4 separate regions of the Homo sapiens genome follow, and all the other regions are linked to region 1. The links are contacts of gene promoters, found by promoter capture Hi-C in blood cells and fetal thymus (Javierre and others, 2016). All regions are on one chromosome and are shown on one strand. Each heading gives the region's core, a stretch centred on a gene start or on the middle of the fragment in contact. The rest is flanking DNA. Distances are from core to core; before and after follow the strand shown.

Evidence for each region. Contacts are between HindIII fragments. The CHiCAGO score rates a contact against its expected background, and 5 or more counts as called.
Region 2: a contact is called between a fragment that was not itself captured here and the fragment with the promoter of DOCK11 in region 1, in 5 of 17 cell types (neutrophils, M0 macrophages, monocytes and 2 more). The highest score is 11.3, in neutrophils.
Region 3: a contact is called between a fragment that was not itself captured here and the fragment with the promoter of DOCK11 in region 1, in 1 of 17 cell types (activated CD4 T cells). The highest score is 5.3, in activated CD4 T cells.
Region 4: a contact is called between a fragment that was not itself captured here and the fragment with the promoter of DOCK11 in region 1, in 3 of 17 cell types (monocytes, naive B cells and total B cells). The highest score is 8.2, in monocytes.

Annotation. Positions count from the first base shown.
Region 1 is chrX:118,493,616-118,497,432 of GRCh38, forward strand. It overlaps DOCK11 (dedicator of cytokinesis 11), which reads left to right and starts at 2,200. Exons shown (of 53, transcript NM_144658.4): 1 at 2,200-2,458. The coding sequence starts at 2,357. RefSeq lists enhancers at 1,538-1,607, 2,010-2,988 and silencers at 2,018-2,157, 2,268-2,347, 2,438-2,497, 2,668-2,727. The HindIII fragment of the contact is 5,195 bases long and covers 1-3,817 here.
Region 2 is chrX:118,805,089-118,808,597 of GRCh38, forward strand. It overlaps a transcript of IL13RA1 not described here. Among named protein-coding and RNA genes, the nearest start is that of ZCCHC12, 17 kb to the right of the region's middle. The HindIII fragment of the contact is 5,226 bases long and covers 1-3,509 here.
Region 3 is chrX:118,975,772-118,979,065 of GRCh38, forward strand. It overlaps LONRF3 (LON peptidase N-terminal domain and ring finger 3), which reads left to right. Exons shown (of 11, transcript NM_001031855.3): 2 at 2,574-2,692. Among named protein-coding and RNA genes, the nearest start is that of LONRF3, 2.8 kb to the left of the region's middle. The HindIII fragment of the contact is 628 bases long and covers 1,163-1,790 here.
Region 4 is chrX:118,764,735-118,768,159 of GRCh38, forward strand. It overlaps IL13RA1 (interleukin 13 receptor subunit alpha 1), which reads left to right. Exons shown (of 11, transcript NM_001560.3): 7 at 1,796-1,843; 8 at 2,110-2,242. Among named protein-coding and RNA genes, the nearest start is that of IL13RA1, 39 kb to the left of the region's middle. The HindIII fragment of the contact is 211 bases long and covers 1,499-1,709 here.

The DNA.
Region 1 (3,817 bases), core at 950-3,449:
AGGAGAGGAGGGACCTTGCCTGTCTTGTTCAATGCTGTGCACCTTCAGTGGCTACCATAGAGCCTGTGGTACTAAGAATGCTTTTGGCTGAAAGTAACAGAATATTCATCTAAACGTGTCATAAACTGCAGGGGTTTATTTTTCTTACATAAAAAGGAACTAGAGGTAGGCAGTATCAGGCCTGGTTCAACAGTTCAATGCTGTCTGGATTCTACATTGGCTTCTCTGAGATTGCCTTGGCCTTGCCTCATGGTTGCAATATGGCTGCCAAGGGCCAAAGCATTGCAAGAAAACATCCCTCTCAGGAAGAAAGTGGGGCCTGGGCCTCTCTCCTTTTTTTTTCATCAAGGTAGAAAAACTTTCCCAGGAACCCTCCTCTCACACTTCCCTCTTATATCTTATTGGCCCAAACCGATTGGGAGTCTAGACCATCCCACTAGTCAATAAGAGGGAGCTTATCATGGTTTTTTCATCAGTCATGATTCATCACCTGGAGTTGGGCCTGCCTTCCTTAAACCCTGTGGCTCTGCCCTATATCTGAAGTAAATCTGGGCTCTCTTTGCAAGCAAAAAGTGTTATAGCTATTGTGGTGGTAACCAACAGCATGAGCCACACAGGCATTTATGGAACAGAGGGTATGAATTCTTGGAGATCAGCCTACACGCAACAATTAACAAATTTTACACGTACTGTGCAAAACTAAGATTTGTGACAGAATGTCTTTAGAGGACTTCCAGGTCCCAGGCCCTCTAGGAGCCTCCATATATGCTTTATTGAGACTGATGGGATGGCTGAAATAGGCTTACTGCGAAGAGACTTGGCCTTTTCTGGGTTCAAAGAAACCATCACCACGCATGCCCTTGTTTCCATAATAAAGTCCCCTAAAAGACTGTTTGGTCTTTGAGGGTGGGGAAAGTGCCCGATGGGTGGTGGTAGGACTGCTTTCAGAAGGGCTGCTCGGTCCCCCAGACTGAGGGCCATTTTCAAACTCTCAACAAATGAAATAACCAGATAGAAAACTGCCACCATCAGTGGAGCCTTTCACTCTGCACTTCAGGAGGTCTGACAGGGTCACTAGTACTTCAAGATTCCCGTCCCTATTTCTGTCTTAAGCATGTTCGTTTTATACCCTGTTATGAGATGTTCTTTGATTCTTGGAAAAACAATTTCTTGGAAGCTGAAAAGAGTAAGGAGATGAATAGGAAATGGAGAGGTGAGTGCAGGGCACTTGTAAAAGCTACTATAAGATTGGTAAGTCCACCAAACCCAGGGAGATGGCCTTCCTAATGCCCACCCCCACCCCACTCCTGGTGCAGTCAGTGCTGACCTAGGGATCACCTGCCACAGGCTCATCCTAATGCCCACCCCCACCCCACTCCTGGTGCAGTCAGTGCTGACCTAGGGATCACCTGCCACAGGCTCAGGCTCCACCACCCAGCTCTCCCCCGTGGGGGACGGAGCGAGGGGTGCCGCCACAATAAGTTCCCACTTCCAGAAGCATGCTCTCTCCCCAGTGTTGCCCCCTGTTAGGTGAGCCAACTGAGTAGGAAAACGGTGTGGGCGAGGAGGGGGACCCAGTCGAGCCGCTCACGCTGGAAAGCAGCTCTCTGTCCTTCGACATTGGTGCGACCCTTCCCCAAGGAGCACACAAAAGGCGGCTGCTCCACGTTGTTTTCCAGCCCCTAGCCGCCTGGGCCCTGGGGGCTTGCGGGGTGGAGGGACGTGAGAGTTCTCCAGCCCTCCTGCGGGCACTGCAGCTCGGAGGCGGGAGAGGAGCACTAGGGCGGGAGAGGAGCACGCCCCACTCTTGGAGACATTTCATCACCCCTCTCTGTTCCCCCACCCCACCCCGCCCTCCCCACTCAAGCGGAAAAAAAGAAGCAGCCCAGATCTCCCCTCCCGGATGCGGCTGCACCAGCAACATCAGCTGCGGGCGGAGCCCGAGCGGTAGCCACTTCCCCCCTCTTCCCTCGTGACCCTCGCCCCCACCTCCAGTTCTCCCTCCCCCTCTACACACCCTTCCCCATCAGACACACCCTCCTGCTTCGGCTGGTGGCGATCGGAGCTCGGGCCCTCTAGGGGAGGGAGCTGCCGCCGCCGACGCCGTGGGGCAGGACAGTGAGCGGGCGAAGCGAGCGAGAAAAGGAGGGAAGGAGGGAACGAGGGAGGAGCAGCGGGTGGGAGGTGGGAGGGAGGAGCAGCGTGAGCCGCGCCGCCGCCGAGCTGCGATGTGGCCGGCCGGCCGGCGAGTAAACAGAGGGAGCAGCAGCGGCCGCGGCCGCCGCGGGCCGGGGCAGTGAGTCCACCCGCCCGCCGAGGTCCGCCCGCCCGCCGAGACCCGCCCGCCGCCGCTGCCATGGCCGAAGTGCGCAAATTCACCAAACGGCTCAGCAAGCCTGGCACGGCGGCTGAGCTCCGGCAGAGCGTGTCTGAGGCCGTGCGGGGCTCCGTGGTGCTGGTGAGTGGCCGGGGGACGGGGCATCCCGGGGGACGCGCTCCAGGCGGGAGCGACGCGGGAAGGGGCAGGAACGGCGCCAGTGCGGCCGCTTGGTGCGCCGCGCGCTGTCTTTCTCCGCTCCAGTAAGTTTTCGCACCGGCAGCCGCCGGCCGGGGTCCGAGTCCCAGGCGCCGGCTGACAGCTCTCCGGCCGCCCGGCACGGCGGAGGCGTGCGCCGGGATGGAAGCAGACGGGCAAAAGCCGGGCTCGGACGGCTGCGGAGGAGGCGGAGGCGGAGGCTCCCACCCAGGGTCGGGGCCGGGGGTGTGAGCTAAAGAGCTGACCTCGCGCTGCTCTGGACTCGGCACAAAGAGCCGGGGACAAGGGCACGACGAGATCCTGATCCCCTCCCGCGAGCACCTGAGGCCGCCTAGGCGGAAGGATGCGATGAGCGTTTGGCACACACACTCTCGCGCGCACACATACACACACTGTGTACACAAAAAAGAACCCCACCCAGAAAGCCCCGGGCGCCCAAGCTCGGGCTGGCGGTGAGAACAGAGGAAGCAGAGCGACTTCCTCCTGCAACTGGGGAGAGAGGGTGGTGATGGGTGTTGAAGGGGTGCTGCTGCGGAGGAAGGGCATTAGAAACAACGGGGTTCTGCGACAGAGTGGGCGCAGGGTCATCCACCGCAGGGAGAGTGTGTCCCTCGGGGACACGCGAGCGCTCCAGAGGCAAGGGGACCAAGGGGACGGTGCCGTGGGGATTTGGGGGAAGACTGGGTGTGTCAGTCCAGGGATGGAGGACCTGGGGTCAGAGCCCCACAGCTCAGGACTGGGGGATGGGGATTCGAAAGCGCGCTGACTCCCTGGGAACCCTCCCAGAGCACCCTCAGCCTTATCCAGATTGTCTGACTCTGGAGAAAGGCTAAAGGGTGCTAACGGGCACTTGCCCCTTCTCTTGTTTTCAAGACACTCGTTGCCAGTTTCCTGGACAAGCGAACAAACCCTGAATAAGCAATCGGACTGATTAATTAGTGTTTGTTTTGTTACTTTGTTTTTTGGTTGTTGTTTTTGTTTGTTTTTGTCTCCCTCAGCTCCATTTTACAGCGAGTCGTTTGCTGTGTTTAAATTTCACCGTTTAAGAGAGGGCTCTTTTTGTTAAAACAACTTGTCATCGGAAGGGAACTTCACAGCTTTTCCTTGTAATTTTTCTGTTGATCTTGTAGAATCAGCAATAAAACCCAGCATTAAAGGGAGGCCAGGGGCTTGATCCCAACAGTGGAGAAAGTTGACATTAGTGGGAGTTCTGGAGGAGGATCAAAGGTAAACTATGTACCTTTGAGATAAAGATCTGATCCCTAATAGCTACAACTGTGC
Region 2 (3,509 bases), core at 602-3,101, 310 kb after region 1:
TTCCTGTTTTCCCACACATGGTTTCACTTCTTCCCTGCTATACAAACACCTAATTTTAGTTGGTCAGGGAGATGGAATTGAGACTGATCTCTTGTCTCCTTGGCTGCTGCACCTGATTAAAGCCTTCTTCCTTGGCAATACTCATTGTCTCAGTGTTTGCCTTTCTGTGCAGTGAGAAAACAGGACCTAGATGGAACTCCTGCTGTTTTGGTAACATTACTACAGACCTCTCAGAATGGCTAAAATAAAAATAATGACAACACCTCAATAATAGTAAGGATGCAAAGAAATCATATCACTCATATATTTCTTGTGGGTACATAAAATGGTACAGCTACTCTGAGAAAGAGTGGCAGTTTGTTTAAAAACGAAACATGCAACTATCACATGGTCCAGCAATTGTACTGTTGGGCCTCTATCCCAGAAAAATAAAAACATATGTTCACACAACAAACTTTACATAAATGTTTATAATGGTTTTATTCATAATTTACAAAAACTAGAAAAACTCAGATATCCTTCAATGGGTGGGTGAATGGTTGAACAATTTTTGGTACAGTCACATCATGGAATACTACTTAGCAATAAAAGTGAATGAATATCACCTCACGCTCATTAGAATGGCCACTATAAAAAAAAACCCATAAAATAGAAAGTGTTGGTGTGGATGTGGGGAAATGAGAATCCTTGTGTGCTATTTGTGGGATTGTGAAATGGTGCAACAGCCATGGAAAACAGAATGGTAGTTCTTCAAAAAGTTAGAAATAGATCTACCTAGGCTGGGTGCGGTGGCTTACGCCTGTAGTCCCAGCACGTTGGGAGGCCGAGGTGGGCAGATCAACTGAGGTTGGGAGTTCCAGACCAGCCTGACCAACATGGAGAAACCCCGTCTCTACTAAAAATACAAAAATTAGCCGGGCGTAGTGGTGGGCACCTGTAATCCCAGCTACTCGGGAGGCTGAGGCAGGAGAATTGCTTGAACCTGGGAGGCAGAGGTTGCGGTGAGCTGAGATCGTGCCATTGCACTCCAGCCTGGGCAACAAGAGTGAAACTCCGTCTCAAAAAAAAAAAAGAAAAAAAGAAAAAAAAAAGAAAAAAGAAAAAGAAATAGATCTACCATATGACTCAGCAATCCCACTTCTGGGTATTTATGCAAAAGCATTAAAAGCAGGGTCTTGGGATATTTGCACACCCATATTCATAGCAGCAGTATTGAAACATGGAGTCTGGGAGCAGCATTCCTATGATCAGTGTCTATGCTATTCCACTTTGTGCTTTTATTAATTCATTCAAGAAGGCTTTTGACGAATATAGATCGTGTACGAGATGCTGTAGTAGATTCAAAGAATAGAGCATGCTTTCTTTTCTTTTTTAAAAAATTGAGATGGTGTCTCACTATTTTGCCCAGGCTAGTCTCAAACTCCTGGGCTCAGGTGATCCTCTTGCCTGCCAAGTAGCTGGGACTACAGGTGCAGTGCATACTTTCTGTCCTATTATTGCTGATAGTCCAGTGCAGGAATGGCAAATTTGTTTCATTTTGTGGATCAGTTCTTCTGGAATACTGTTTCCCGAAGGATTTTGAGATTGGGTTTGGGCTCAGTGGGAAGATGGCTAAGATCTATCAGTGATGTCTCTTGTTGGGTACTGGTGGGGGGGTGTTGATGTACTTGTGCCACATGGTTGCCACCTTGGCTAAGGGCTAGAGTGACATATTTATGTATATAAATAATGGATTATCAACAAGACAGAATATTAGCAATTAGAGTTATGAAAGGAGGTCCAAGTAAAGTGCTGTATACAGGCAGTGGAAAAAATGATGGGGGTGTCGGGGCTGGGAGGATACCCAGAAAAGTTTTTTGAGGGCAGTGCTAGTTGGTCTGCACATTAAAGCAAGAGTAGAATCTGAAGAGATTAACAAAAGGGGGCATCCCTGTCCTCAGAAGGAGTTTGAGTAGAGTGGAAGGATGGATTGTGAGAGAAAGATGACAGAGATAAGCAGATGACCTAGGGATTAGGCAAGAGGTGGAGAGGATCCGCTCCATGCCTGGCAAACAGGAGAGGAGGACACAGATCTGAAGTAGTTTAGAGGTTGACTCACCAGGACTCCATGAATGGGAGGGAGATGCTCAAAATGTTATAGAGAAGCACAGGCTTGGGTGGGGAATGGGGAGTAGATGAGAAATACGAATTTCATTTTGGACATGTTCACTGTAGTATGCTAGAGGAACCATTAGGTTATGATTTCCTACAGGGTTGGGGACACTCACGGATGGCAATGAGAGGAGGGCAGCTTCAAGAGTCAGGGTTATGGGAGCCAGCTGCCAGGGAAAGACCAATGAGGTCATTCCCAAAATAAGACACATTGCAAGCCCTCTCAGCACAGTGTGAGGACAACCCAAATCTAAGCTAGCTCTGGGGGCAGTCATGGCATGGTAGGTTAGATGTCAAAGCAGAGACTTCATCACGAACTTGGCAGCCCAAGAGTAACACACTGCTGCCATCTGGGGGCTGCATGTAGAAATTGTAATGGCAGCTTTGTGAAAGCCACTTAATGAGAGAGGACATTATTTTGGAACCAGCAAGACCCTTCCTCTCAAAAGCCTTTTATAGTTCTTCCTTAAATTCTTTTCTGCCTAGTTCTACTTCTCTGTCCCCAATGAAGGAAACCATGGGTGCACATGTTCTGTAGCATATTTCCAGAAGGACTGAACCCCTGAAAGCAGAATACTTTCAGTCAGCTACAGCATCCTAGCACTGGATTGAGATACTCCATGCTGCTGCTGCTACTGTGCTCTAGCAACTGACCAAAGTTCTTGCCTGAACCACCCTCTGCCGGATCTCCCAAATCCCCTCATTTTGACTTCATCACTGCCTGGTTCTGACCTTTGATACTAGAATACTGAATTTTTGCCTCCAGGGGCACAATTTACTCTTCTATGTTTTCTTTTGCTAGCATCTTTTTCCTAAGTGGAACTGGATTTTCATTTACTCATTTTTCATTCAACAAACATTTATTGAGTGGCCACAGTGTGTCAGGTACTAGGATACATTTGGGAGCAAAAATAGATGGGTCCCCTCAGAAACCTGTATTACAGTCTAACTGTAAAGACAAAACAATCATTTTAAATGTGATAATTGCTATGAAGGAAAGGTCAATGATGCAGTGAGATGTAGTGAGGTGAGATGAAGAAAAGGTCGATGAGGCTGTGAGAACAGGTAACAGGGGATTCTGACCTAGTCTTGCAGGGTAGCAAAAACTTTTCTGAGGATGTGACATTTAAGCTGAAATTTTAAGGATTGGTAGGAATTAGCCAGAAATTAACTGTTCTGAAAACTATGAAACCTATAAGACTGGGAAAGAAGGGGCCATCCTCCTTGTTCCTCTGTCTTCTACAGTGGTAATACAGCAGGGAGATTCAATTGCTTTACATAGGACAGTCTCTAGGAAGATCTTTCATTCTGAATTAGCATGTCAACTACAGTGAAAACATGTCTAAAAAATAACAATT
Region 3 (3,294 bases), core at 227-2,726, 480 kb after region 1:
TTCTGTTTTCACTGCTTATCTGTGTTTCACTGTGTTTGTGTTGATCTCGGTTGCTTTTTGTCTTTTCCTGCTACTTCTGTTAGCTTTTGTGTTCCTGTCTCTCAGTCCCCGTTCCTGTCTGTGTCTCCTTGCTTCTGGTTCTTTTTCTCCGTCTCTTCGTATCTTTGTCACTGTTTCTTTCTTTTTCGGTGTCACTGTCTCTGTTCCTCTGACTCTCCTTCTCCCGCTGCACTCCTGGTCTCCTCTTACACCTGCTCGCACCTTCCCAGCGAGGAGAGGAACTTCGCGCGCTCCTCGCACTTGCGCCCGGTCCTCTGGGCTGTAGCCAGCAGGAGATGTCCGGTCGGCGCCTGCGTCCGCCGCTCGCGCCGCCGGGTGTTGCCCCTTCCGGGGCCGCGGCTCCCTGTGGGGTGGGTCCGGCATGGAATTAGGTCAGGAGAGCACTGGTTGCATAAGGGCCGCGAGCGGCCCGGGTCGGGCGCCCCTCCCCCGCGCGAGCGGGCGGGATTGTGTAACCGCTGAGGTAACTGAAGTGGGCCACCACGCTCGCTTCGGAAACCATCCCACGAGCATGTGCGGGGGGAGGGGGAGCGCTTGCGCCCCGCTGCCCTGTGACTCATTGTCACCGCTTCCTATCACACGATCCTCGGCTGAAATAGATGCCCCCCCTTGCCCGCCCCGCCAACCCGTAGCCTGTGCCCTCGCCTCCAACCCCTTTAACCTGGCCAGCCCGGCGGGAGGCCGGCGCGGCAACTGCTTGGGGATCCCTGGGGACCGTGGGCTGGCTACGAATGGGTCACGCCTCTGTCCCGCTTTTCAGTGCCGCCTGGGAGGGTTGGGTGGGCTTTGCAGCTTCAAGGGTAACGTGGGCAGTCCCCCATCTCCAGCTAGACTAGGGCACCCGAATTTCCCCAGGGAGCCGCTCTCTGACCCACCACGCCTGGACCCAGGAAGTGGCTGCTGAGCCGCCAGCCGGTGTTGCCCAGCTCTGGCAGTTTGCCAGGAGCTCGGCCGTGGGGCGCGGTGTCTGGCGAAGCATGCCGGGGAGGAGGCAGCAGGGCTGGGCAGGCAGGGCCCTGGGATCCGAGGGTGTCCTGGACCTGACTCTGTGGAGTGGAGGAGGGGTGTGGGCCGGAGTCTCCACGTGTTTAATCTCCACTCAAGCTTGCAACAGGTAATGGGGGGAGGAGGAGGAGGAATGAGGACTGAAGGGGCAAGGCTGGCAGCCGGAGAAGGGGACCCTTCTAGCTCCTGTCTGTGCACAAGCAAGGCAGACTGTGAGCTGCCACCAGGCTGGAGTGTGCTGCAGAAGAAAAAAGACAGAAAAGACTAAACAATTTGCTAATGTCTTAAGAGCAAGTAATGGGCACGCAAGCAAGCCCTGAGCACACCCCTGGGGAAAAAAAAAACATCAAAGCCTGTTGCCACAGAGGAAGCTAGATCCCAGATCTTGGGGAAGAGCAGGGCAATATGAATGAGGCAGGTGGAGGTCACTTAACTCTAGATCTCTAAGGCAGATTCCATACCTTTTAGCCATCCCCCAGGGGCCAGGAAAGCCCCTTCCTGCCCTCACCCTTCTCCTCTGTTGCCACCACATTCCCCTGGAAGTTCTTCCTTGCATCTTTGTTAATCCCCTCAGAGAAGTCAGGGTGAAAATGTCAAGGCCAGCTTTACCCTTCTAAGAGGAAAGGAGGCTCTCTGTTCTGGAAGATGGCCATTGTGTCCGTATTATTCCAAGTACTGCACACACCTTCAGAAAAAGGAACCTGCTCCCCACATCCCAGCTTCAAAGCTTCAAAGTCTGACCAGTTATCAGTGACTGCCCAGCTAGCCGTGTGACCTTGAGAAAATGCCTTCCCTTCTCTGGGCTTGATTTTCCCATCTGAAGAATGGGTTGATTGAGCCAGATAATCTCTAATAGCCTGTCCAGCTCTGACATCTAGTAATTCAGAGTTTTTGGTGAGAGCCGGCCTCACCTTATTCCCAGAAACCTTGTCCAAGTTCATTTACATTTGGCCATTTGAAATGAGAGGATGGGACCATGTAAATGTATTTCCATTTTCTTCAAGAAATCTTCATATGTGCTGGGCTTTGTAGACAAAGGTGTTACTAATGTCATCAGTCATTCCCACCTGGAAAAGTAACTTGGATTTGTCTTCTTGGTGGTTCAGATAGGGGTCACATCTGCCCACCTCTCTCTCCTTCCTACCTGGCCTGTTTTCTTGTTGGTAATACTGCACTCATAAACCAGGCTGCCGGACACTAGCCGTGTGTAGCCACATCTCGCCTATGTCAAAGTGTCTAATGCACCACTGACACCACGGGGCCTCTAATGAACCACTTGTGAGCGGGGGCAAAAATGACTTTGCAGTTGGGGAACCTCAGGCCCAGAGTGGCTGGGGGTATAGAAGGCAGGACAATATTAGGACTAGAAATAGAGCCTAACCCTTTTGATCTCCAGTAGAAAAGTCCTAGAAAACTTATCATTTGCTCAAGATCCATACTCATACAGGACTTAACACCTGCTTGCGCTGGGGGCCATTAATAAAGGTTTTTCTTTCTTATTTTGACAGCTCCAAATGACCACTTGCTTTATAGCAATCGGTCTCAGATTTATTTCACCTTGGAGTCTCATGAGAATGCACTGCATGATGCAGAAATAGCATGTAAGCTCCGCCCGATGGGTTTTAAGGTGAGTGTGGGATGGAAGAGGTGGGAAGGGGTTGTACTGTAGACAGGTATTGGCAGGAAGGGCTGCCTCCCTGGAGCATAGGGGCACTAGAGCTCAAGCAGAACAGGAAGAAGACTTTGCAAAGGAGCCAGGGTAAAGATCCCTGGGCAAAGAGTGACTCAGGTCTGCAAGGGAGCTGGATTCTTCCCCAATTCAGTCTTCAACTCATGACCTTCAGAGCAGCCTGGGCATAGTGACTCTCTAGAATATGCACTTGGGAGCCAGACTGCCTGGGTTTATGTCCCAACTCTGCTAACTTTTATGACCTTTGTGGCCCTGGGCAAATGACTTAACTTCCCAGTACTTCATCTCCTCATCTGTTAAATGGGGGATATTCAAAGCAGCTACTAAAGAGGGCTGTTGTGAGGATTACATAAGCTAATAATGTAAGGTACTTAGAACAGTGTCTGGCATGTAGCACTATATAAACGTTCTCTTTCTTCCCTTCCTTCCTTCCTTCCTTCCTTTCTCTCTCTCTCTCTTTCTGTTTTCTTTCTTTTTTTTTTTTTTTTTTTTGAGACAGAGTTTCCCTCTCGCACCCAGGCTGGAGTGCAGTGGCGCAA
Region 4 (3,425 bases), core at 354-2,853, 270 kb after region 1:
TCTCTTTACATTAGACAGCAAGTGACTTTTATTGTGTGGAGGAGAATTTTGCATTACACTTTCTTTTCTCCAACCCAGTCAAGTTTTATATCTTATACTCTCAACAAGGGACACTGGTTTCTCGCTCCCTGTCTCTTTTTAAAAAGTTTTTACTGAGTTATAATACATGAACAAAATTACACAAATCATAACCTATAGCTCAATGATTTTTCACAAATGATTTTTCACCTATGTAACCAGCACCACAGAAGCCCCCTTCAGTTGCTGTCCTCCCAAAGAGCAGCTACTCTCCTGGCTTCTAATCCCATAGATTGATTTTGTTGCTACTTTAAAACTTTATATAAATGGAATTATATAGAACGTACTTTTTTTTTTCGAGACAGAGTCTTGCTCTGTCACCCAGGCTGGAGTGCAGTGCAGTGGCGCAATCTCAGCTCACTGCAACCTCCACCTCCCGGGTTCAAGCGATTCTCCTGTCTTAGCGTGCGGAGTAGCTGGGATTACAGGCACATGCCATCAAGCCCAGCTTTTTTTTTTTTTTTGTATTTTTTAGTAGAGACGAGGTTTCGCCATGTTAGGCAGGCTCCTGGCTCTCGAACTCCTGGCCTCATGTGATCCACCCTCCTCAGCCTCCCAAAGTGCTGGGATTACAGGCGTGAGCCACTGTGCCTGGCCCAGAATGTACTTTTTTGTGTGTTTGCCCTTTTTTTCACTCAACATTATGTTTATGAGATTCACCAATGTTGTTTCTTATAGCTGTAGATGGCACGTTCTCACTACATTCATTCCATTGTGTGAATATACCATACTTTATCCATTCTCCCATTGATGGACGTTTGGATAGTTTCCCATTTGGTTTTATGAATGGAGTTCTTATGAACGTTCACATACTTGTCTCTTGGTACACATGTGCGTACATTTGTATGGGGCATTTATATAGGCATATGTGGGTCATAAGGTTACATATGATTGTCTCTAGTAGATAATAACAGTTTTCCTGGATGGTTGTGCCAGTTTACACTACTAAGCAGAAATTGTGAGTTCTAGATGCTTCATATCCTCACAACACTTGTTGTTGTCAGGTAAGTGTGTGTATTGTTATCTTGTGGATTTAATTTGCATTTTTCTCATGACCAGTGATGTTGAACACTTTTTCAGATGTTTATTCGCAACTTGCTTATCCTCTTATGAAGTGCCTGTTCAAGTCTTTTGCCAGTTTTTTTAAAATTGGGTTTTCTGTTTTTGCCTTATTAGTAGGGTAAGAAAAAATACATATGCAAGTCCTTTGTCAGAAATTGCAAATATGTTCTCACACTCTATGCATTGCCTGTTTATTTCCCTATAAGGTGTCATTTGATCAACAAATGTTTTTAATTTTAATATGGATGACTTTATTAAAAAATTCTCTTTATGGTTAATATGGGAGGTTTTTTTGGTCTTGTTTAAGAAATATTTCCCTTCTTCAAGGTCATTAAGATATTCTCTGTTTTTATCTAAAAGCTTGCTATAGTTATGTATTTATTAATTCATTTTATCTTACACATTTAAATCTGCAATATATCAGGAACTGATTTTGTGAATAGTATGAGGTAGGGCGTCAAGAATCTTTTTTTTTTTCATATGCATATGTAATTGACCCAGCACCATTTATTAAAAAAGGCCAACCTTTTTTCACTGTACCTGATCATCTTTTAATGGGATAAAAGGAAAGCTTGTTAGAAATGACTAGGTGATAGAAAATGGGTTTTTAAACATTTAGGACTCATTAGTTTATTTATTTATTTTTATTTTCAAGGTCCAAGAGGCTAAATGTGAGAATCCAGAATTTGAGAGAAATGTGGAGGTCAGTAAATTCAACATTAGCTATTTGGGTTTAGACTTAGAGCAGTTGGGGGTGGAGCATAGCCTAAATATGAGCTGCTTTGAGAAAAACAAATTACGTTGTTCCGTGAGTTATTGACAATTTTTTCGAAAAGTCAAAGATAATTTGAATTGCAATCCAAGTCTTAATCATAGACAGAATTTGGCAGATAATTGTATTATGATTCAATAACAGTGAAAAAGAATAAACTGGTAATATTCCTTGTGTATTTTTATTTTATGCCTAAGAATACATCTTGTTTCATGGTCCCTGGTGTTCTTCCTGATACTTTGAACACAGTCAGAATAAGAGTCAAAACAAATAAGTTATGCTATGAGGATGACAAACTCTGGAGTAATTGGAGCCAAGAAATGAGTATAGGTAAGAGAACAGAATTTTTATTAAAATTTAAAACACTGATGTATAAAAACTAAGCTGAAGCAGAAAATAGACTGGGGAAAGGGACTGTCATGCTCTCTTGATGTCAGGAAAAGAGTACTTACAATTGAAATTTATTTTCTTCTTAATCACTTTCAAACCACCCAGGGTTAATTGACAGTATACAGTTATTTAGAAAACCATAATCCAAATGGTTTTATGTTCTTTTCTATCTCATTTCCATTTTTATTAACAAACTGAACAAAAATATAGAAAGCAGGCATAGGCTGCACACAGTGACTCACGCCTGTGATCCCAGCACTTTGAGAGGCTGAGGCAGGAGGATCGCTTGAGCCCAGGAGTTGGAGACCAGCCTGAGCAACATGGTGAAACCCCATCTCTACAAAAAATACAAAAATTAACCAGATATGGTGGTGCACGCTTGTGGTCTTGGCTACCCAAGAGGCAGAGATGGGAAGATCTCTTGAGCCTGGGAGGCGGAGGTTACAGTGAGCTGAGATTGTGCCACTGCCCTCCAGCCTGGGCGACAGAGTGAGACCGTCTCAAGGAAGAAGAAAAAAAAAAGGCAGGCATAATAAAATTTGCACATTGTACAATACTAGAGACTGTCCTACATGCTGGTTGGCAGAAACAAGAGTGGAGCCATTTAATAGAAACCTGTACCTAAGTTTGAAAAAAATCATTTATTAATTGAAAGGCTGAGCAAGCTAGGCTCAAGTACAGGACTGGAAAGACCTGTGCTTTATGGATGTGTGTGTGGTGGGGTGGGATACACGGCTTTATAAGTGCAATGTGACTCAACATTGTAATCTTAAATGTGTCAAAAAGGCATATACAATCTTAGGAGTGATAAGTGCAGCACCCAGAAAGGAATGCTGCAGGTTGGGGCACAGAGCTATGGTCACATCAGAATTGTGCAGTATTCCATTCTGAGCACCACATTAAAGGAGTTGCCTTGGCAGACTGGAATCTATCCTTGAAAGGATAATCAGGATGTTGAAGAATCTCAAAACTTGGCAAGGAACAATTGGTAAAGTAACTTTGAGGAGTCATGATTGCTGATTTCTAATATTTGAGGTATTGTCAGGTACAAGAAGGAATAGGCTTTACTTTTTGTGTCTCCAAGGGGCAACACAGAACCAACTTAAGAACTTTTTAAACAGCT